Linked DNA regions of Homo sapiens: all the other regions are linked to region 5. The links are contacts of gene promoters, found by promoter capture Hi-C in blood cells and fetal thymus (Javierre and others, 2016). All regions are on one chromosome and are shown on one strand. The core of a region is centred on a gene start or on the middle of the fragment in contact, and the rest is flanking DNA. Distances in the headings are between cores, read along the strand shown.

Region 1 (3,295 bases), core at 442-2,941, 460 kb after region 5:
TTTTTTTTTTTTTGGATTGGCCTATGAATTTATGGAAAATGATCTGATACCCAGTCAATACCTGCCCTATCTGAAACTCCTGCTTTGCCTTTACTAAAGTACCTGACGAGGTATGACCCTGCTTGTGGCTGCTCATTCCCGAGGATATCAAAAATCCTGGGATGGAGCCTTGACTTTCTATTTCCTTGGTTCCATCTTCAGCAATGACTTCCCAACCTGAAAGGAGTGGGTAGTCAAGGAAAACACAGAAGGAAACAAAAAGGCACAGCTGAAAGGGAAGGGGCTCTTTGGCTAACAGTGCTATTTAATTTAGTCCAACTTTAGGCCATTTGTATTGGAATTCCTAGTTTGGAGAAGTGCCTCATATTGAATTACACAATAAATAATTTTCTATTACATGAATTTACTGTTCCTAGCTAGAACATTTCAAAGAATCTTAAGTTCCACACATCAAGACTGGCACACAAACACCAGAGGTGAGGCTTCGTCAGCATGTACAAATGGGGCAGAACAGACTATGCAGAAAATATTTGTATAAAGGATACGGGTACTTACGGCTTCAGCATCCGAACGCAGCAGTCTCTTTACTTCATTTTCCACGTCTGGAGATTCAATGTACTGAAGCAAAGTTGGGGATTAGAGGGGGATACCAATACTGTCATTTAACACCCTGTGTGTTGCAGGAGTGCCCTCCTACGTACCAACGAATTCAAATGTTAGGCCTCTTTAAATTCTGATCCAACCAAATTTCTACTTTAAGTAGTGCTATTTATAAAGGAATCTTTAGCCAGGGTCTAGAATTTTGTACAGTAAACTTACTTTTTTCCTAATTAAACAAATTACTTGAGACATTTAATCTTTTCAATCTGCAGCTCTATGGTAAAGCCCTCTCTCAGAGGTGCAACCCTTAGGTCTCAGTTATAAATTATTTCTCCTGATTTATATTGGCAAAGAACTATAATTCCTTATTAGTTATTTAGAAATAATTTGGTTTAAAGATCCAAATTCCCAGATTTCACTTCCCCACATCTTTATTATTAGAGACGTTCCTATAAAAACTGGATCTTAGCTGCATGTTCTCCCTTGAATCCAGTTTTACATAATTATCTCCACAGCAACCAATTTGTTGTGCCACAAATAGAAATTAGGATTTTGATGGGGAATAAGCAATTGCAAACAACTGCTGTTAAAAGTGAGCTCTGGCTCCCAAGGAATGGCTTTTGAAATAAATATCAGAATAAAAAGAGCAGATTAGAATACACGGGGTCACTGGCCAAATTGTATCTTTTCCTCTAGCAGTTATCAAACATCAAACAATGAATTCATTTTTTAGTGAATCAAACCCAGTGTATGTGTTTAGGATGAGGGTTAGAGGTGAGAAGGAAGGCTCAAAAGTAGCTTCTGTGGTTTATTTGATTCATTTGAAACTAATGAGCTATTAAATAAAACACATTAAGGGTAAAAATGAAGTTATATTATGATTGCTCTACCTCAGTAAAGCTGCTTTTTTCCATTTCTTTGACATCAGGGACCTATGAAATAAAACACAATAAACAAGTTATATTATGATACCTATATTTCAGTAAAGCTTAAAGAGCTCTACAACTATCCTTAACTTAGTTTTACATTTAGTAGGCACTCAATAAATGTTGATTTACAGAGTATAAAAGCCAAGGCAACTGTGTTCATGGATTGGAAGACTCAATATAGTAAAAATGTCAGTTCTCCCCAAATTGATCTACAAGTTTAATGTAATTCCTGCCAAAATTCTAGCAAGGTTTTCTATAGCTATAGACAAGCTTATTCTAAAATTTATATTAAAAGATACAGGCTTTTGGCCAGGCGTGGTGGCTCATGCCTGTAATCTCAGCACTTTGGGAGGCCAAGGCGGGCGGATCACGTGAGGTCAGGAGTTCGAGACCAGCCTGGCCAACATGGTGAAACCCGTCTCTACTAAAAATACAAAAATTAGCCGGGCATGGTGGCCCATGCCTGTAATCCTGGCTACTTGGGAGGCTGAGGCATGAGAGTCGCTTGAACCCGGGAGGCAGAGACTGCAGTGAGCAGAGATCGTGCCATTGCACTCCAGCCTGGGCAACAGAGCGAGACTCCATCTCAAAAAATAAATAAATAAATAAATAAATAAAGATATGGACTCTAGAATGGCTAAACAATATTGACAAAGAAAAGTAAAGTCAGAGCAATCAGCCTTCTAATTTCAGGACCAATTATATAGCGACACTGTGATATTGGTGGAGGGATTGACAGATGGATCAGTGGAGGAGAATGGAGAACCCAGAAACAGACCCATAAAACCAAGCCCAACTGATATTTCACAAAGGTGCAAAAGCAATACAACAGAGGAAGAATAGCCTTTTCAACAAATAGTGCGAGAGCAATTAGACATCCTTTGGCAAGAAAAGCAAAAACAAACAAACAAACAAAAACAAAACAACAACAACAACAAAAAAAAAACCTTGAACTAAACCTCATAGCTTTTACAAAAATTAAGTCGAAAATGGGCATCAGGCTTAAAAAGATGTAAAAAAAAAAAAAAAGCAGGAGAAAATCTTCAGGATCTGGGCTAGGCAAAGAGTTCTTAGATTTACTATAAAAAGCAAGATCGTTTTCAAAAAAATCAATATATTGTACTTCATCAAAACTAAAAACTTTTGCTCTCTGAAAGACCCTACGAAGAGGATGGAAAGACAAGCTACAGACTGGGAGAATATATTTGCAAACTACATATCTGATAAAACACTGGTAGTATTTAAAATATAAAAAGAACTCTCAAAATTCAATAATAAAAAATCAATTTAGAAAATAGGCAAAAGGCATGAGCAGACATTTCGCTGAAGTGGAATAGATGGCACATGAGATGCTCAACCCCGTTAACCATCAGGGAAATGTAAATTAATACTACAATGGGATCACTATGCACCTATCAGAATGGCTAAAATGAAAAATAGTGACAACACCTAATGCTGGTGAGGAGGTGGAGAAACTGGATCATTCATACATTATTGGCAGGAATATAAAATGGTACAGTCACTCTGGAAAACAGGTCATTTCTTACAAAACTAAACATGTGACTACCATATGACCCAGCAATTATACTCCTGGACATTTATTCCAAAGAAATGAATACTTATATTCACACAAAAACCTGTTCACAGCTTTATTTATAATAGTCAAAACCTGTAAACAACCCAGATGTCCTTCAAAGGGAGAACAGTTATGTAATGTGGTACATTCATACCATGGAATACTACTCAGCAATAAAAAATAAACTATT
Region 2 (3,500 bases), core at 885-3,384, 380 kb after region 5:
TAGTGTTCACTTCCTGATTGTGCAAAGGCTCAAGGTCAGCCAAACATGACAGTGTGGGGCCTTCTTGAGTCTTTCCAGAGCATGTTTACAGTCCTATGCATGCTTATGCCCTTCTAGATCTTCTGAAAAATGTAGGAGGTTTTCAAAGTGCTTATAGATATATTCTTCCCCAATTTTTCTGTTTAAGATTTTTTATTAGTCTATTGTGTACCTTAACTGTTATTCACAGCCTTAGGCAGCTGCAAAGCTAAATCACTTGCCTGTATTTGTTTTTGGCAAATACTCCCCCTGGAGAAGGCTTTTTGCACTGTGTTATCTCTGAGCAAGTGGTATTTTCCAGGGAACCACCAGACATATATAACAATGACAGTTGTTTAGGAATGAGGCTTTGAATAAGCTCCCACCTCTTTCTGCTCCCTCACGTGTCAGGCTGCTGGTTTTCTTCATAAATGTGGACTGTAATTTTTTAAGGCTACTGCAGAGCTAGAGAGTGGGAGATGGAACTAGGACAAATTAAAATGACGTGAAGCTCACTTTTCTTACAGAGATTCAGGTGTTTTTCTTTAAAATACATTCCCCAGGTTGCTGCAAGCCTTTGGTTAATTTCCAGAGTTCTGAAAATGTTGATTCTGACTAGTTTTGGCTTCAAAAAAATTTTACGGAGGACTGAATTTGGGGGGCCGTTACTCTTCCATTTTCGCTAATATTGTCTCAATAATTCTTTTAAAAAGCTTGTTAATATAATTATATCTAAAAACATTAACAATACTGCCTTAATATATGTCTATTTTATGTTTCCCTGATTGTCTCAAAGTATTTTTATAACCATTTGTTTGATTCAGGTATTTTAAATGGTCCCCAGGTTACATTTGGTTGATATGTCTTTAATGCCTCATTTAATCTATAGGTTCTCCTTGTTCCTTTTTATTTTTGCAATTTTTTTGTTGAAGAAACTGGGTGTCTTCCTAAGTTTCCCACATTCTAGAGTTTGCTCATTCTATTCTCATGATATTGTTTAACATGCTCCTTTGTCCCTTTTTTCCCTACAGGTTTAATTAGAGTAGATCTTATCTTTTGATAAGAATATTTCATATATACTATTGTCTGTCATTCTCCTTATATTTTAAAGCTACATTTGGGTGCCCATATCAGGGCCCTACAACAAGTGGATTAGAATATAGAGGCTTAGGCTAGGCACAGTGGCTCACGCCTGTAATTCCAGCATGTTGGGAGGCCAAGGTGGGCGGATCACCTGAGGTCAGGAGTTCCAGACCAGCCTGGCCAACATGGTGAAACCCCGTCTCTACTAAAAATACAAAAATTAGCCAGGCGTGGTGGTGTGTGCCTGTAATCCCAGCTACTCGGGAGGCTGAGGCAGGAGAATCGCTTGAACCTGGGAGGTAGAGGTTGCAGTGAGCCGAGATCGCGCCACTGTACTCCAGCCTGGGTGACAGAGCGAGACTCCGTCTCAAAAAATAAATAAATAAATAATAAAGAAATTAAAAATAGAATATAGAGGCTTACCTATAATCTCTTCCTTCTGTGCACTCCCTTCTTCCCAAACAGATATACACTTATTCTCTCAGTAATGAAATACTTATTTCTAGGAATTGAAAAGTAACCTTTTTTTCCATTAAAATACTGGTTCTGTCAGTCTTAGATTACCACGACCATTATTAAAATCTTTATACTGCATTTTTTACTATTTAGTATTTTTAGATTTTTAAACCCCAAACCTAAACCTTTGTCAGCCTAATTGTACTGGAATTTTAAAAATAGTATCAAGCTGGGTGCACTGGCTCTTGCCTGTAATCCCAACACTTTGTGGGGCTGAGGTGAGAGGATCACTTGAGCCCAGGAGTTCAAAACTAGCCTAGGCAACGTAGCGAAACCCCATCTGTACAAAAAATTAAAAAATTACCAGGGTATGGTGGCACACACCTATAGTCCCAGCTACTCAGAAGGCTGACGAGGGAGGATTGCTTGAGCCTGGGAAGTTGAGGCTACAGTGAGCCATGACCATGCCACTGCACTCCAGCCTGGGTGACAGAGTGAGACCCTGTCTAAAAAAAAATATTGTCATGCATTATATCCAGTTCACATTCTAAGATATTGTGTGGATGCCTTTCATCCAGATTCTTCAGTGTGGCAGGCATTATTATAATAGTCTCATTTTACAGTTGAAGAAACTATAAGCTCTGAAAGATTGAATAATTCACACAAAGTCATTCATAATGGAGTCAGGTCTGCCTTTCAGATCTACTAACACCAGAGTCTATGGGTTTTTTTCATTACACCATTTTGAGAATAAAATCATATGGTATTGCAAGCTGCTCCTTGTACTCTTTCTTTTTTTTTTTTTTTTTTGAGATGGAGTCTCGCTCTGTCACCCAGGCTGGAGTGCAGTGGCACGATCTCGGCTCACTGCAACCTCCACCTCCCGGGTTCAAGTGACTCTCCTGCCTCAGCCTCCTGAGTAGCTGGGATTACAGGTGCCCGCCACCACGCCTGGCTAATTTTTGTATTTTTAGTAGAGATGGGGTTTCACCATGTTGGCCAGGCTGGTCTCGAACTCCTGACCTCCTGATCCGCCCGCCTTGGCCTCCCAAAGTGCTGGGATTACAGGCGTGAGCCACCGCATCCGGTCTCTTTTTTTTTTTTTTTGAGATGGAGTCTCACTCTGTCTCCCAGGCTGGAGTGCAGTGGTACAATCTCGGGTCACTGCAACCTCCACCTCCCGGGTTCAAGTGATTCTCCTGCCTCTGCCTCCCAAGTAGCTGGGATTACAGGCACGTGCCATCACACCCAGCTAATTTTTGTATTTTTATTAGAGACGGGGCTTCCCTATGTTAGCCAGGCTGGTCTCGAACTCCCAACCTCAGGTGATCTGCCCCCCTTGGCCTCCCAAAGTGCTGGGATTATAGACGTGAGCCACCACACCTGGTGCCTGGTACTCTCTTAAGAAAAATATCTCCTTTTTAAGATTATTAGTATCATAAGATCTAATACCTTGAAGCAGATAATATAGATACTGCAAGTATGGGCTATAATATAATAAATCACACTAGGGTGAGGAAAATTGAAAGGTTGTTCTCCACTTAATGCTTTAACATTACCAAATTAATGTTGTCTTCAATTACCACTTTCCCACACTAAAAATTAAAACTAATCACTATGTATAATTTAAACGTTTTGAATTATTGCCCTGAGCTTAATCTTAGTTTAAAACAATTGAAACACACCAGAACTTTCTTCAAAGAAAAATGTATTTGAAAACTCCTGGTAAAAATACTGATTCCTCTTTTAATGATAAAAGATAAAACACACTCTTATTGGAGCAGAGAATAATGACCACTTTTGTTTTATAAAACATGTGTTTCCCTCACCCCTAATTGAGTACACATGCTCCAGGAAAAAAATCAGGGCCAAATACTGCTAATAATGAAAGGGAAGAATATTAGGATCATAATTTAATTAGCTCTAAGGATCTCTTTGCTCAT
Region 3 (3,422 bases), core at 76-2,575, 280 kb after region 5:
GCTGGGATTACAGGCATGCGCCACCACGCCTGACTAGTTTTGTATTTTTAGTGGAGATGGGGTTTCTCCATGTTGGTCGGGTTGGTCTCGAACTCCCGACCTCAGGTGATCCGCCCACCTCGGCCTTCCAAAGTGCTGGGATTACAGGCGTGACCCACTGTGTCCGACCTTCCTTTTAGACTTTGAATTACATTGTTCATTGGAATTAGTTGCAGTTTTTTATGTTTACTGTTCTCTTCATAAGACCAATCTGTTAAGATTATAAAATGGGTTTTTTTGTGTGTGTGTTTGGGCCAAAAGTTTCTGTGTGCATATGCCAAAAATAACCAGTTACCATATATCATCACAGATAAAATGCAAAATACATACTTTTGTCACCAAATACATGAGAACCATTTTTTAGTATTTATCTTAAGAAGCATACGTAGTAATTTAAACAATGTTGCTGGAAGGCATCTTAAAAGATCACTTAGTCTACTTCATTACCTTCATTTTCTTTCTTTCTTTCTTTTTTTTTTTTTGAGATGAGTTTCACTCTTTCACCCAGGCTGGAATGCAATGGCATGATCTCGGCTCACTGCAACCTCTGCCTCCTGGGTTCAAGCGATTCTCCTGCCTCAGCTTTCTGAGTAGTTGGGCTTATCGGCATGTGCCACCACACCCAGCTAATTTTTGTATTTTTAGTAGAGACGGGGTTTCGCCATGTTGGCCAGGCTGGTCTCAAACTTCTGACCTCAGGTGATCCACCCGCCTTGGCCTCCCTAAGTGCTAGGATTACAGGCGTGAGCCAGTGTGCCCAGCTAAGATGCTTTTTCTTTTGTGCAAATATCTTTTCCTGTTCTAAATTCATTGGTGGTGGTTGGGATGGTTGGAAGAGGTTCTTAGAAATAACACCTGGTCAATATTTTATTTACTTGAACCTTTTAAGTTTTTCTCATTTAAATTCAGACTTGGAAGATATTTTAGACTCTAAACACTCTCATTTAAAGGTGAGGAAAAAGAGGCTCAGAGTAGTTAAAGAGACTTGCTTAAAGATGTCCAAACTCCCATTCTAGTGCTTATACTGTACCACATTGCTGCTTTTTTTCCTACTTAAAAAAAAGTTAAGGCTGGGTATAGTGGCTCATGCCTATAATCCCAGCACTTTGAGGGGCCAAGGCAGGATGATTGCTTGAAGCCAGATTTGAGACCAGCCTGGGCAACAAAGCGAAACCTTGTCTACAAAATGTTAAAAAAAAATTAGCTAGGTGCAGTGGCATGTGCCTGTAGTCCCAGCTACTTGGGAGTCTGAGGCAAGAGAATCACTTGAGCCCAGGAGTTTGAGCTATGATGGTGCCACTGTACTCCAGTGTGGGCCACAGAGCAAGACCCTGTCTCTGGGAAAAAAAAAAAAAAAGAAAAATTAAGACAGCTCTCAAAACCAAATGCTTTATATACTAAGTATTTCCTGGCTGTTGCATGTTAGATTCCTTTGTTTATACCCTAGCAGCATACTTGCAGGGGTGTGTGTGTATTTATTTTAAAGTAACAACACATTACTAACCGAATTCAACATATGACTGTCAAGTATTTTATTTCTCTATTTTTATCTGATTAGTTCTCTGTTTCCCTAGAAAGTTAAATTAGACCTAATAAAATTGGCTTTTTTCTTGTAGATGGTTTTAGATTATTTGGTTCTAATATCTTTCCAGGAATCCATGTTTAACTGAACAATGTCTGTCAAGATCAATTCTCCCACTCCCATCTCACCTTAAAACATATATGGAGTAGGGGCCGGGTGCAGTGGCTCACGCCTGTAACCCCAACACTTTGGGAGGCCGAGGTGGGCGGATCACGAGATCAGGAGATCGAGACCATCCTGGCTAACATGGTGAAACCCCGTCTCTCCTAAAAATACAAAAAATTAGCCGGGCGTGGTGTCGGGCGCCTGTAGTCGCAGCTACTTGGGAGGCTGAGGCAGGAGAATGGCGTGAACCCAGGAGGCGGAGCTTGCAGTGAGCCGAGGTCATGCCACTGCACTCAAGCCTGGGTGAAGAGCGAGACTCCATCTCAAAAAAACAAAACAAAAAAACAACATGTATGGAGTATACAGATGTTTTCTATTTTAGAAATTTTTTTTTCGTGACAGAGTCTCGCTGTGTTGTCCAGACTGCAGTGCAGTGGTATGATCATGGTTCACTGCAGCCTTGACCTTCTGGACTCAAGCAATCCTCCCATCTCAGACTCCCAAGTAGATGGGACTACAGGTGCGTGCCACTGCACCCAGCCTCCTTTTGATATCTCAGAAATTAATGATTAGGTTATCTTGATGTCTGCTAGGACTTGAGGTGTCTCAAAATGCATGCCTCAGACTCGGGAAACTTTTATATAGCAAGTTAAAAAATAATCTCTGGCTTTCTATTGTTACTTTTCATTTTTTTTTTCTGTTAAGCTGGAATTTGCTGAGGTCAAATGTGGCCTCCTTAATTCCTTTTCTCCCTTTTATTATAGTTATTTCTGTGATGTCCCCATCCCTACTAGATCTTTACATGCAGCTCTTTTGGTAAGTTGAGATGCATATTTAGAGGCAGGTATGGTAGAAATGTCATCATAATTAGGTACAAAGGGACTTTAGACTCTTTAAAAATTAAGTCACTTGGAAGTAAAAATAGAATTAATATTGAATTCTCCCTTTGAATTTGGTGCACATGTAATGTGTTGGTGGTGAGACTATTTTAAATTTCGAAGAGTTAGTGGATGGGAGTGAGAAAGAAAACAAGAAAAACAAGAAACCACAAGAGTGGAAAGCAGAGATTTTTATTTTTGTGATTCATTACCTATCATCACTGCTTCCTTTCTTCTCCACAGAATGATAGTGTAGAAAGTGATGAGATATATTCTAATTCTTGAAGCCTTAATTAACAGAAATTGAGATAGGATATATTCAAAGCCAGTCTCTATGACATCTTTTTTTTTTTTTTTTGAGATGGAGTTTTGCTCTTGTCACCCAGGCTGGAGTGCAATGGTGTGATCTCAGCTAACTGCAACCTCCGCCTCCCGGGTTCAAGCGATTCTCCTGCCTCAGCCTCCTGAGTAGCTGGGATTACAGGTGCCCGCCACCATGCCCAGCTAAGTTTTGTATTTTTAGTAGAGATGGGGTTTCACCACGTTGGCCAGGCTGGTCTCGAACTCCTGACCTCAGGTGATCTCTGTGACATCATTTCTATTACCAGATGGGAGAACACCATAGAGGCCTGAGATCAAGTGGAAAGATTGGACTAGTGTAGAATGGTATTACTGCCAGCCAATTCCAAGAATATCTTGTTCTAGGCCAGTCACAGTGGCTCATGCCTGTAATCCCAGCACTTTGGGAGGCCAAGGTGGGCAGATCCCTTGAGCCCAGGATGTGAGACCAGCCTGGGCAACATAGTGAGACCTTGTCT
Region 4 (3,298 bases), core at 753-3,252, 480 kb after region 5:
AGCATAATGTTCTCAAGGTTCATCCATATTGTAGCATGTATTATAATTTCATTCCTTTTAAAGACTAAATAATATTCCATTGTATGGATATATCACATTTTGTTTATCCATTCATCTGCCCATGGACATTGGGTTGTTTGTAACTTTTAACTATTGCGATGAATGCTTCTATGAATATTGGTGCAAAAATATCTGTTGGAGTCCCTGCTTGCAATTCTTTTAAGAAGACACCTAGAAGTGGAATTGTTAGATCACACCATAGTTCCATGTTTAGCTATTTGAAGAACTACCAAACTGTTTTGTACAGTGGCTGTACGATTTTACATTCTCACCAACAGTGCACAAAGGCTTCAATTTCTCCATGTCCCTGCCAACACTTGTTAATTTCCACTTTTAAAAAGTAATAGCCATCTTAATGGGTATGTAGTAGTATCTCATTGTGGTTTTGCTTTCCATGTCCCTGATGGCTAATGATATTGAGCATCTTTTTCATGTGCGAATTGGCCATTTGTATCTCTTCCTTGGAGAAATGCCTATTTTATTACTCCAAGGAAGAGATACAAATGGCCAATTAGCATATGAAATATTGAATAGAAACATCTATTCAATTTCAATATACTCCTAGGTATTTTTTTAGTTACTGTAGATGGGTTTGCTTTTTTACTTTCTTTATCCACTAGTTCATTATTGGAGTGTATAGTTACTACTGATTTTTGTGTGTTGATTTTGTATTCTGCAACTTTATTGCCCACTTATTAATTAGGTTAGTTGGGTTCTACTTTGTGTTGTTCTTGAGTTGTAAGAGTTCTTCATATATTCTGGCTGGGCGTGGTGTAATCCCTGCACTTTGGAAGGCCAAGGCAGGCTGATCACTTGAGGTCAGGAGTTTGAGACCAGCCTGGGCAACCTGCTGAAACCCCATCTCTACTGAAAATACAAAAAAAAAAAAAAATTAGCCAGGCGTGGTCATGGGCACCTGTAATCCCAGCTAGATAGCATCCTTTGGTACACAAAAGTTTTTAGTTTTGGTGAAGTCCAATTTATCTACTATTTCTTTTGTTGCCTGTGCCTTTGTTGTTATATCCAAGAAATCATTGTCAAATCCAATGTCATGAAGCTTTTCCCCTATGTTTTCTTCTAAGAGTTTTATAGTTTAAGGTCTTACATTTAGGTCTTTAATCCATTTTGAGTTAATTTTCTTTCTTTTTTATGTAATCCCACTACTCTATTTTTGCTTTTGTTGTGTGTGCTTGGGAGGCGTTAGCCGTAAAATCTTTGCCCAGACCAATGTCTTCAAGTATTTCCTCTGTTTTCCTTTAGTCGTTTCATAGTTTCAGGTCTTACACGTAAGTCTTTAATCCATTTTGAGTTGATTTTTATATATGGTGAGATATAGGGGTATAGTTTCATTTTTCTGCATATGGATATCCAGTTTTCCCAGCACCATTTATTTAGTAGACTGTCACTTCCCCCAATGAATGTTCTTGGCACCTTTGTCAAAAATTAGTTGGCTGTAAATACATGGGTTTATATCTGCATTCTCTATTCTCTTCCATTGGTCTATGTGTCTGTTTTTATGCCAGTACCACGTTGTTTTGGTCACTATAGCTTTGTAGTATATTTTGAAGTCAGGTAGTGTGGTGCCTTCAGCTTTGTTCTTTTTGCTCAGAATTACTTTGACTACTCAGAATCTTTTGTGACTCCATACAAATTTTAAGATTTAAAAAATATTTCTATGAATAATGTCATTAGTGTTTTGATTGTGATTGCACTGAACGCATAGAGAACTTTTGGTAATAGATTACTTTTTCAAAATGTTGATTCTTCCAATCCATGAACATGAAAGTCTTTCTATTGTTTTTTGTCCTCTTCAATTTCTTTCATTAGTGTTTTATAACTTTTTCATCTTGATCTTTTACCTCATTTAAATATATTCCTATGTTTTTTTTTTTTTGACCAAGTTTTGCTCCATCACCCAGGCTGGAGTGCGGTGGCATGACCTTGGGTCACTGCAACCTCCACCTCCCAGGTTCAAGCAATTTGCTGCCTCAGCCTCCCGAGTAGCTGGGATTACAGGTGCCCACCACCATGTCCGGCTAATTTTTGTATTTTTAGTACAGACAGGGTTTCAACATATTAGCTAGGCTGGTCTCGAACTCCTGACCTCATGATCTGCCTGCCTCAGCCTCCCAAAATGCTGGGATTACAGGTGTGAGCCACTGCGCCTGGCCATTCCTAGGTATTTTTTCTATTTATTGTAAACAGGATTGCTTCTTTTGCTTTCTTTTTCCACTAGTTCATTGTTGGGGTGTATGGAGTCACTACTGATTTTTTTTTTTTTTGATGGAGTCTTGCTTTGTTGCCCAGGCTGGAGTGCAGTGGCATGATCGTGGCTCACTGCAAGCTCCGCCTCCTGGGTTCAAGTGATTCTCCTGCCTCAGCCTCCCCAGTAGCTGGGACTACAGGCACCCGCCACCACGCCCAGCTAATTTTTTGTATTTTTAGTAGAGACGGGGTTTCACCATGTTAGCCAGGATGGTCTCAATCTCCTGACCTCATGATCCGCCAGCCTTGGCCTCCCAAAGTGCTGGGATTACAGGCGTGAGCCACCGTGGCCGGCACTACTGATTTTTATATGTTGATTTTGTATTCTGCAACTTTACTGAATTTGTTCATCAGTTCTAGCAGTTTTTTTGCTGGAGCTTTTAGGGTTTTCTCCATATAAGATCGTGTTGTCTGCAAACAGGACAATTTGTCTTCCTTAATTTCCAATTTGGATTCTCTTTATTTCTTTCGTTTGCTGAATTACTCTGGCTTAGACTTCCAGCATTACATTAAATAAAACTGGTGAAAGTGGGTATGCCTGTCTTGTCCTAGATCTGAAAGTAAAAGCTTCCAACTGTTCCCTCTTTTTGTATTTATTGTAAATGGGATTTATTGTAAGTGGGATTGCTAGTCTGATGCTGGCTGTAGGTTTGGCCTTTGTTGTGCTGCTGTACATTCCTTCTGTACCTAACTTGTTGAGACTTTTTATCATGAAGGGATGTTGAATTTTATCAAATGTGTTTTACTGAGTTTATTGAGGTGATAAAATGATTTTTGTTCTTCATTCTGTTGATGTGTTATATCACATTTATTGATTTGCATACACTGAAACATCCTTGCATCCTTGGGATAAATCCCAATCATGGTGAATGATATTTTAAATGTGCTCCTGGGATTGGTTTACTAGTATTTTGTTAGGGATTATTGCATCTATGCTCATCATGGATATTGGTCTACAGCTTTCTTTTCTGTT
Region 5 (3,558 bases), core at 841-3,340:
AATACAATGAGGACACAGCAAGTGCTTAATAAATGTTAGCTTTTATTATTACTAACTCATTGGGATCAGCTACACAGTTGTAAGAAGGCTAAAGTAAAAATTATTTATGCAAGGCTGGCAGTGCAACATAGCATTCAGATCCAGGGTCCATTTGGTCTAATATGGCTGATATTAAGTGTTTCTCAAGGGGAGAGACATTATTGGCATTCAGTGGGGGGAGGGGTTCATCCTGTAGAACTGCCTTGGACATGGCAGTCCATTTATCATCTCTGGCTTCTCTTCCCCTAGCAGTAGTCATTGCAACAACTGAAAATGCCACTGTACATTTCCAAAAATGCTCCTCCACAAGGGTTGAGAACTTTGAGAACTACTTTAAGGGAAATTTCATAAGAAAGCATGCGTGTCTTAAATGCTGCCATAAAGCTACCTCAATAACTACAATGCTACTCAAATTACCTGACCCTAAGAATCGCCAGTGGCACTTGTTTAAATATAACGATTCCCAAGTTCTTTCCCTGGAGTCCCATTCCATAGGGCTGGGGTGGAGCCCCAGGAATCTATACTCTTACTCAAAGACCCCAGGTTAATCTTTTGTTTATGTAAGTTTGCCAAACACTGAGTTAGAAATATACTCAGCCGTACATGCATTTAGCAAAAGTTCACCACAACGGAACAATGACACACCAAAACTCTTTGAAACTGTGCCTTCTACAGAGCTGTAAATCTCCTTTTGGACCATTCCATTACACAAGGTGTCCTCTTGGTCACACAGTGATTGCAAATGGGACTCTAGAGTCATGGAAATGGGTATACTCTTCTCAAACTTTCCATCTTTACCAGAATTACTTCTTAAAGTGATATGCTTCATGGTGTAAACTAGCACTTATTAATTTTTTCTAAATATTTATCATATTTCATATACTTTTATTTTGGAGATGGAGTTTCGCTCTTGTTGCCCAGGCTGGAGCGCAATGGCAGATCTCGGATCACCGCAACATCCATCTCCCGGGTTCAAGCGATTCTCTGGCCTCAGCCTCCTGAGCAGCTGGGATTACAGGCATGCGCCACCACGCCCGGCTAATTTTGTATTTTTAGTAGAAAAGGGGTTCTCCATGTTGGCCAGGCTGGTCTCCAACTCCCGACCTCAGGTGATGCGCCCGCCTCGGCCTCCCAAAGTGTTGGCATTACAGGCATGAGCCACCGCGCCCGGCCCATATACTTTTAATACATGTGGAATTAATAAAAACGTCCATGCCTCCAATTCCGTGGCTATTTTACCGTCTTCCTTTTTCGGACAAGTCCCTCAAAGGTAGCGCTCTTGGCTCCTTCCTTTGCTTATCCCCTAACCCTGTCCTCCTGAGGTGCCCCCTGGATTTCCTCCAACCCCGGCAGGGTCTGCCTTTCCGGGATGATACAACGACCTGCCCTGCATGCCATATCCCAGGCGCGTGGGCACCAAAGTGTGGAAAAACCGATGAATGACGTTTTCTGTTTCCGATACTCTGCCTGCCAGAATCCCCTGCCGCACCGCCCCACCACGAAGCACATGGAACCCACGGACTACACGAGGACAGAGGTCTGTTCTCCCTTTACCTCTCCCATTTCTTTAACTATGCTTCTCTCGGCTGGCATGCCCTTTCCTCATCTCACTCCACACACGAACAGGTTTAGCAAATAATATGCACGCTGCTGGGACGGGCCCAAGCATTTCCCTCCCTTGATAGGGCGGAACTAAAATGCAAGCCCCACAGTTGTCAGCAAAGGACTTCCCTGTTACCATGGTAAAGCCGCTGCGCCTTTATTGTGGTTGAGGAGTACTTGCATCAACCTAAGAGAAAATTAATAAGAAGGAAGTCTGCAGGCTGAAACCCTTCAAATTAGCCTGGACTCGCCTGCATCTGGCTCGGAACAGAGTTAATCTCAGGAGTGAGAATATAGCCCTCCGGTGGACGCAACTCGCGCCTGCGGCTAACAGAATGTCTCCAGGGGAGGGGCTCTGCGTCCGTTCCGCCCAGGCCCTTCCGGCTCACGCGCCGTACGGAAGCGTGCTCAGCGCTGGGCTTGTGCTCCGTACGGAAGTGTGCTTTGGCGCACCGGAAGCCGACTCAACAGAGCTATGGCGGGTTTGACTGTGAGAGACCCAGCGGTGGATCGTTCTCTACGTTCTGTGTTCGGTGAGAGGAATTCGTTGTAGTCAAGCTTCGGGGAGGGACTCCCCTCTGCACCTTCTATCTCATGAATCGCTACCGGAGCCGCTGACGGTTCGGACGTGCAGTTCTCCCTGCTTATCCTGTAGGGCGTCCAACCTGGTGGACTCATGAGCAAAGAGATATTCCCATTCTGCCGAGGTCTCGTAGGCTTTCCGCAATATCAGTGGGGAAGTTAGACTAGCGTTCAGCTTCTGTGCGTTTCTCCTTTCATGAGCTTCAATTATTCTCTAGAGGAGAAGGCTCACGGTAACAGCTCCTCACTGTCCCGTACTACTTCTCATCCTCTGCCCCAGAATACAGACTATATGCTGAGGGTATAGATCCTAGTGTCCACTTACTGTCCTCTCCTAAGGACTTTCATCCTTTGCTTTTTATCTGTAACATTTTAGTGCATCAATAGTGGTAGCGGCCACCTGGTGTCCTGAGATGGCTTGTAAGTGAATGAATGAATGAACTATTAAGATCTCCTCAGAGGAATTTTAAAAAGGATCGAAACGATTCTGAATTATCTTTTTGGCTGAAATAAGTTGTTTTTAAAAATACGTGTGATTATTTTAGAGTACCATTTGAAAGGGACATGACAAAGTAGTTCAGAATACTTTTTAAACATCTTTCACTACATTCATCGTCATTCTCCCTTAAATGTTGTATGTGTGGAAATACATAGGAACCTGTTTTAAAAATTATATTAAATAACATTGATATTTTTTGTAGTCACTGATGAGACTTGCAGATCTTTAGGTAAATACCAGTGCCAAAGTATTTATTTGCACCAAAGTTAAGGAAAATCTAACACGTGTCAGATCAGTCTGAGAACTAACATTTGAGAGTACCTACACATTTTGTATTTAGTTTCAGTGGTATATTTCCTTTGTTAAGAGGTCTGAAGAAATACAATGGAATTGGGATTGGAGAACACTATTTTGAGTCTTATATTTGATGATATAAGTTTACTTTCTCACTAAAGATCTATGTTATAAACTCAGAATTTTAATGTTACCTATTTTCTTCCTTAGTGGGGAACATTCCTTATGAAGCTACTGAAGAGCAGTTGAAGGACATCTTTTCTGAGGTTGGACCTGTTGTTAGTTTCAGGTGAGATCCCCTTTTCCTTCATGGTGGGAGCTTCTTAAAAATCACCACAGATTTGGCTCTTAGTAATAATGGCAGGTTTTCTTTACTGGTGACTTTTCACATACATTTTGTTCTTGTAACAGCTTTATTGAGATATAATTGATACACTATACAATTGACATTTATTCTTACCTAAAATATGTTTTTTTCGTTAAAAATGTTTTTTAGGCAGGGCATAGTGACTCAAGCCTGTAATCCCAGCACTTTGGGAGGC
Region 6 (3,723 bases), core at 646-3,145, 390 kb after region 5:
CTACTTTATAACTTCTAGGATGGCTATACTAAAAAAGACAAGTATTGGCAAGAATATGCAGAGATGGGAACCCTTGTACATTGCTCGTGGAGATGCCACTTTGATGAACGGTCTGGCAGTTCCTCAAAAAGTTAAATGCAGAGTTATCATATAACACAGCAATTCCATTCCTAGGTATGTACTTAAAAGAATTGAAAACATATATTCATACAATAAACTTGCACACAAATGTTCATAGCAATAATATTCATAATAGCCAAAGGGTGGAAACACCTAAATGTCCATCAATTGATGGATGGATAAATAAAATGTGGTATATTTATACAATGGAATATTATTCAGCCATACATAGGAATGATGTAGTGAAGCTTGATGATAATATGCTACGTGAAAGAATCCAGACACAAAAGACCACATGTTGTTTGATGTCATTTGTGTAGAATGGCCAGAATAGGAAACTCTATAGAGACAGAAGGTAGATTAGTGGCTGCCTAGGCCTGAGAAGGGACTGGGGGGATATTGGGGGCAACTGATAATGGGTATGGAGTTTTTAGTTTGAGACAGAGTTTCACTCTATCACCCAGGCTGAAGTGCAGTGGTGCAATCATAGCTCACTGCAACCTGGAACTCCTGAACCCAAATGGTCCTCCTCACGCAGCCTCCCGAGTAGCTGGGACTAAAGGCACGAGCCACCATACCTGGCTAATTTTTAAATATTTTTCAGTAGAGACACAGTCTCACTGTGTTACCCAGGCTGGTCTTGAACTCCCAGGCTCAAGCAATCCTCCTGCCTTAGCTTCCCAAGGTGCTCAGATTATATCACACCTGGCTGAATTGTGCACTTTTAAAAAGTGAACCGCATGACAATAAGAAAGAATTGCAGTTGTAATTATGAAAAAGTTCAGATTTTGTTGAATTCTCTCATGCTTATTTTATAGGTTAGTATTATTTATATCTTAAATTATTTATAGGCACTTAGGGTTTGTACCATTATCTATCTCTTTCATTCTTGGGGTTGTTTGTTTGTTTTTCCTTTTTTTTTTTTTTTTTTTTTTAGATGGAGTCTCGCTCTGTTGCCCAGGCTGGAGTGCAGTGGTGTGACCTTGGCTCACCACAACCTCCACCTCCCGGGTTCAAGTGATTCTCCTGCCTCAGCCTCTTGAATAGCTGGGACTACAGGTGTGCACCACCATGCCCAGCTATTTTTTGTATTTTCAATTGAGACGGGGTTTCACTATGTTGGCCAGGCTGGTCTCGAACTCCTAACCTCGTGATCTGCCTGCCTTGGCCTCCCAAAGTGCTGGGATTACAGGTGTGAGCCACCATACCCAGCCATCGTTCTTGGGGTTTTAAAATGTCTTACCCTAGCCCTGTTGTACTCTAGCTGTGCATCATACATCATATTGAATCTTTCCTTCTTTGCCTTCCCCTTCAAAATCATTTGCCCTCTATCCCATGCCTGTCTGGTGATTAGAACGAAAGAGACAAACTAATGAGTATAATGTATAGTAACTGAAGATAGCACTTTCATTTTGACAGATGCTTTAACTTGAAGGAAATGATTAATAGGGAATTGCAGGCACCATGGTGGGGCCAGCAGGGGAAGTCATTTTTATTAGTGATAGCATTTCAGTCCTCCTCAAATTATACCAAGTAGGTACCTACTAACTCCACTGACTCCTGTGAGATCGAATTTAAGACTGGATCTAAGGAGGGGGCAATATGGTAGCTCCAAGTTTGACTGGTTATTGTCCTGTATGAGGCATCCTTTTATCGCTGACAGAGTCTCACCTTGAAATTGTCACTTTGCCTCTACCAAGCAAATAAATACCTGCCTTTCTTTTGTGAGACAGATAGAGCTTGCTACTAGATATAAAACAGACAGCTCTTGTTGTTTAGGCCCAGGGTTGCTTTAGATTCTGAAGCAACTTCAGGGTTTAAAGGCATCCCTGAAATGGGTCTCTACCAGTTGGTGGTCAAGGTGCTTGCCACCCATATATGCCAATATGTGCTTTCAAGTGCACCTAGAATTATGAAGTGGTAAGTTCTAGGATGTGTCCTATTTGTAATACTGTGGCCCTGCCTAAAAGTAGGAGAGATGTGGGAAGAGTATCAGCTTTGGAGTCAGGTGGATTTGGGATTGAATCCCAGCTTGCATTTTTTTATTAGCTTTATGAATTTGGACAAGTTACTTTTAACATCTCTGAGCTGTAGTCTCCTTGTCTGTAAAGTTGGAAATAATAACCCTTACCTCACTGAATCATTGTGAGCATTGCAGGAGGTAACACTGGCACATAGGTACACTACTTGGCACAGAATACAGTCTCAAAAATGTTAGTTCCCTTCCCCTCTCAATCCAAGTTACAAGCAAGAAGTGAGTGACCATCTTGCCTCAGTATCCTAAACACAATGAAAGTACAAATCAATAGCAGTTCTCTTTAGCCTAGAAAATCAGTAGTTGTTTTCTTTTTCTTTTTCTTTTTTTTTTTTTTTTTTTGAGATGGAGTTTTGCTCTTTTTGCCCAGGCTGGGGTGAAATGGCGTGGTCTTGGCTCACTGCAGCCTCCACCTCCCGGGTTTAAGTGATTCTCCTGCCTCAGCCTCCCAAGTAGCTGGGATTATAGGCAACTGCCACCATGCCTGGCTAATTTTTGTGTTTTCAATAGAGATGGAGTTTCACCATGTTGGCCAGGCTGGTCTTGAACTCCCAACCTCAGGTGATCCACCTCAGCCTCCCAAAGTGCTGGGATTACAGGCGTGAGCCACTGTGCCCAGCCGAAAATCAGTAGTTCTTATTGAATTGTGTGTGTTTTCTTGGAAGCTCATATGTGAAAGGTTGCTAGTGAATGTGCATATGTCTAGCAGTCTGGGCTGAAAGGAGGATAGGAAGGTTGATAATGTGAAAGATAGTGAATAAACCTGAATTGTGTGGTTGGTGTGTCTACTTAAAGAAATATAGTATCTGATCTAGCATGGAAACAGGGAGCTAATTACATTCCTGGCACGACGTCCTTAGCTGTTATAGTCTACTCTAGGATGTATGTCCTTTGCATATAGGAAAACCACCAGGACCTTGAAGCAATAGAAATAATAATCTCTTACATTTGAATAACACTTTATAGTTTCAATATATATTCACATCCATTATCCCATTTGAGTCTCAATCCAAATGAGTGAAGTAAACAGGGCAGACAGCTATTATCTCCTATCTGGTGAAGGAAAAATCAAAGCTCAAAAATGTCAGTGACAATTTCGTAGCAAAATTGGGATTAGAACCTTTGTCTTTTGACTCCTAATTCAACATTCTTTCCACTATACCACTTTAACCGTAGCTTGAATGGTTTTGGCCTAAGTGGAATATATTTGAAAACATAAATAGAAGTTATGTTATATAACATCCCAGCTGCTGGGTCTGGTTTAGCAGAAGCTTGAAGAACAGCAGAAGAGGGTGGGAGGTAACCAAGTGTGTAAAATGAGTTCCACATTTTCAGATGTTCAACAAAAGCAACAGAGAGTGCTCAGACCATTGACTGGGACAATACTGATTCTTTAACCCTTAGTCTGTTATGGCTTTGCATTATTCCTTATCAACTCCAATGACGAATTCCAGCCTTTTTGACATTGTGCCCCCTACATTTTTAACCTGTTCCTCCAACTTAACCTGTTCCTTCAACTTATCTCCCAGCCTCCTGCATCTATATCATACATGGTGAAAATCCCTCCC

What was found. The method cuts DNA at HindIII sites, captures the fragments that hold promoters and counts their contacts. A CHiCAGO score of 5 or more calls a contact.
Region 1: a fragment that was not itself captured here is called in contact with the fragment with the promoter of CSTF2 in region 5 in 1 of 17 cell types (non-activated CD4 T cells); the score reaches 5.3 in non-activated CD4 T cells.
Region 2: a contact is called between a fragment that was not itself captured here and the fragment with the promoter of CSTF2 in region 5, in 1 of 17 cell types (erythroblasts). The highest score is 5.4, in erythroblasts.
Region 3: a fragment that was not itself captured here is called in contact with the fragment with the promoter of CSTF2 in region 5 in 6 of 17 cell types (total CD8 T cells, total B cells, non-activated CD4 T cells and 3 more); the score reaches 8.1 in total CD8 T cells.
Region 4: a contact is called between a fragment that was not itself captured here and the fragment with the promoter of CSTF2 in region 5, in 1 of 17 cell types (total B cells). The highest score is 6.1, in total B cells.
Region 6: a fragment that was not itself captured here is called in contact with the fragment with the promoter of CSTF2 in region 5 in 2 of 17 cell types (activated CD4 T cells and endothelial precursors); the score reaches 5.6 in activated CD4 T cells.

The regions. Positions count from the first base shown.
Region 1 is chrX:101,277,504-101,280,798 of GRCh38, forward strand. TAF7L (TATA-box binding protein associated factor 7 like) reads right to left here. Exons shown (of 13, transcript NM_001168474.2): 7 at 1,491-1,532; 8 at 546-618; 9 at 103-216. Among named protein-coding and RNA genes, the nearest start is that of TAF7L, 12 kb to the right of the region's middle. The HindIII fragment of the contact is 211 bases long and covers 1,587-1,797 here.
Region 2 is chrX:101,195,619-101,199,118 of GRCh38, forward strand. No RefSeq gene overlaps it. Among named protein-coding and RNA genes, the nearest start is that of DRP2, 22 kb to the right of the region's middle. The HindIII fragment of the contact is 2,811 bases long and covers 730-3,500 here.
Region 3 is chrX:101,103,472-101,106,893 of GRCh38, forward strand. All of the region lies in intron 4 of CENPI (centromere protein I), which reads left to right. Among named protein-coding and RNA genes, the nearest start is that of CENPI, 7.0 kb to the left of the region's middle. The HindIII fragment of the contact is 5,027 bases long and covers 1-3,422 here.
Region 4 is chrX:101,298,842-101,302,139 of GRCh38, forward strand. No RefSeq gene overlaps it. Among named protein-coding and RNA genes, the nearest start is that of TAF7L, 9.2 kb to the left of the region's middle. The HindIII fragment of the contact is 1,775 bases long and covers 1,116-2,890 here.
Region 5 is chrX:100,818,301-100,821,858 of GRCh38, forward strand. It overlaps CSTF2 (cleavage stimulation factor subunit 2), which reads left to right and starts at 2,091. Exons shown (of 14, transcript NM_001325.3): 1 at 2,091-2,174; 2 at 3,227-3,305. The coding sequence starts at 2,117. RefSeq lists enhancers at 1,763-1,822, 1,833-1,882, 2,163-2,322. The HindIII fragment of the contact is 13,366 bases long and covers 1-2,197 here.
Region 6 is chrX:101,211,996-101,215,718 of GRCh38, forward strand. No RefSeq gene overlaps it. Among named protein-coding and RNA genes, the nearest start is that of DRP2, 5.9 kb to the right of the region's middle. The HindIII fragment of the contact is 3,058 bases long and covers 367-3,424 here.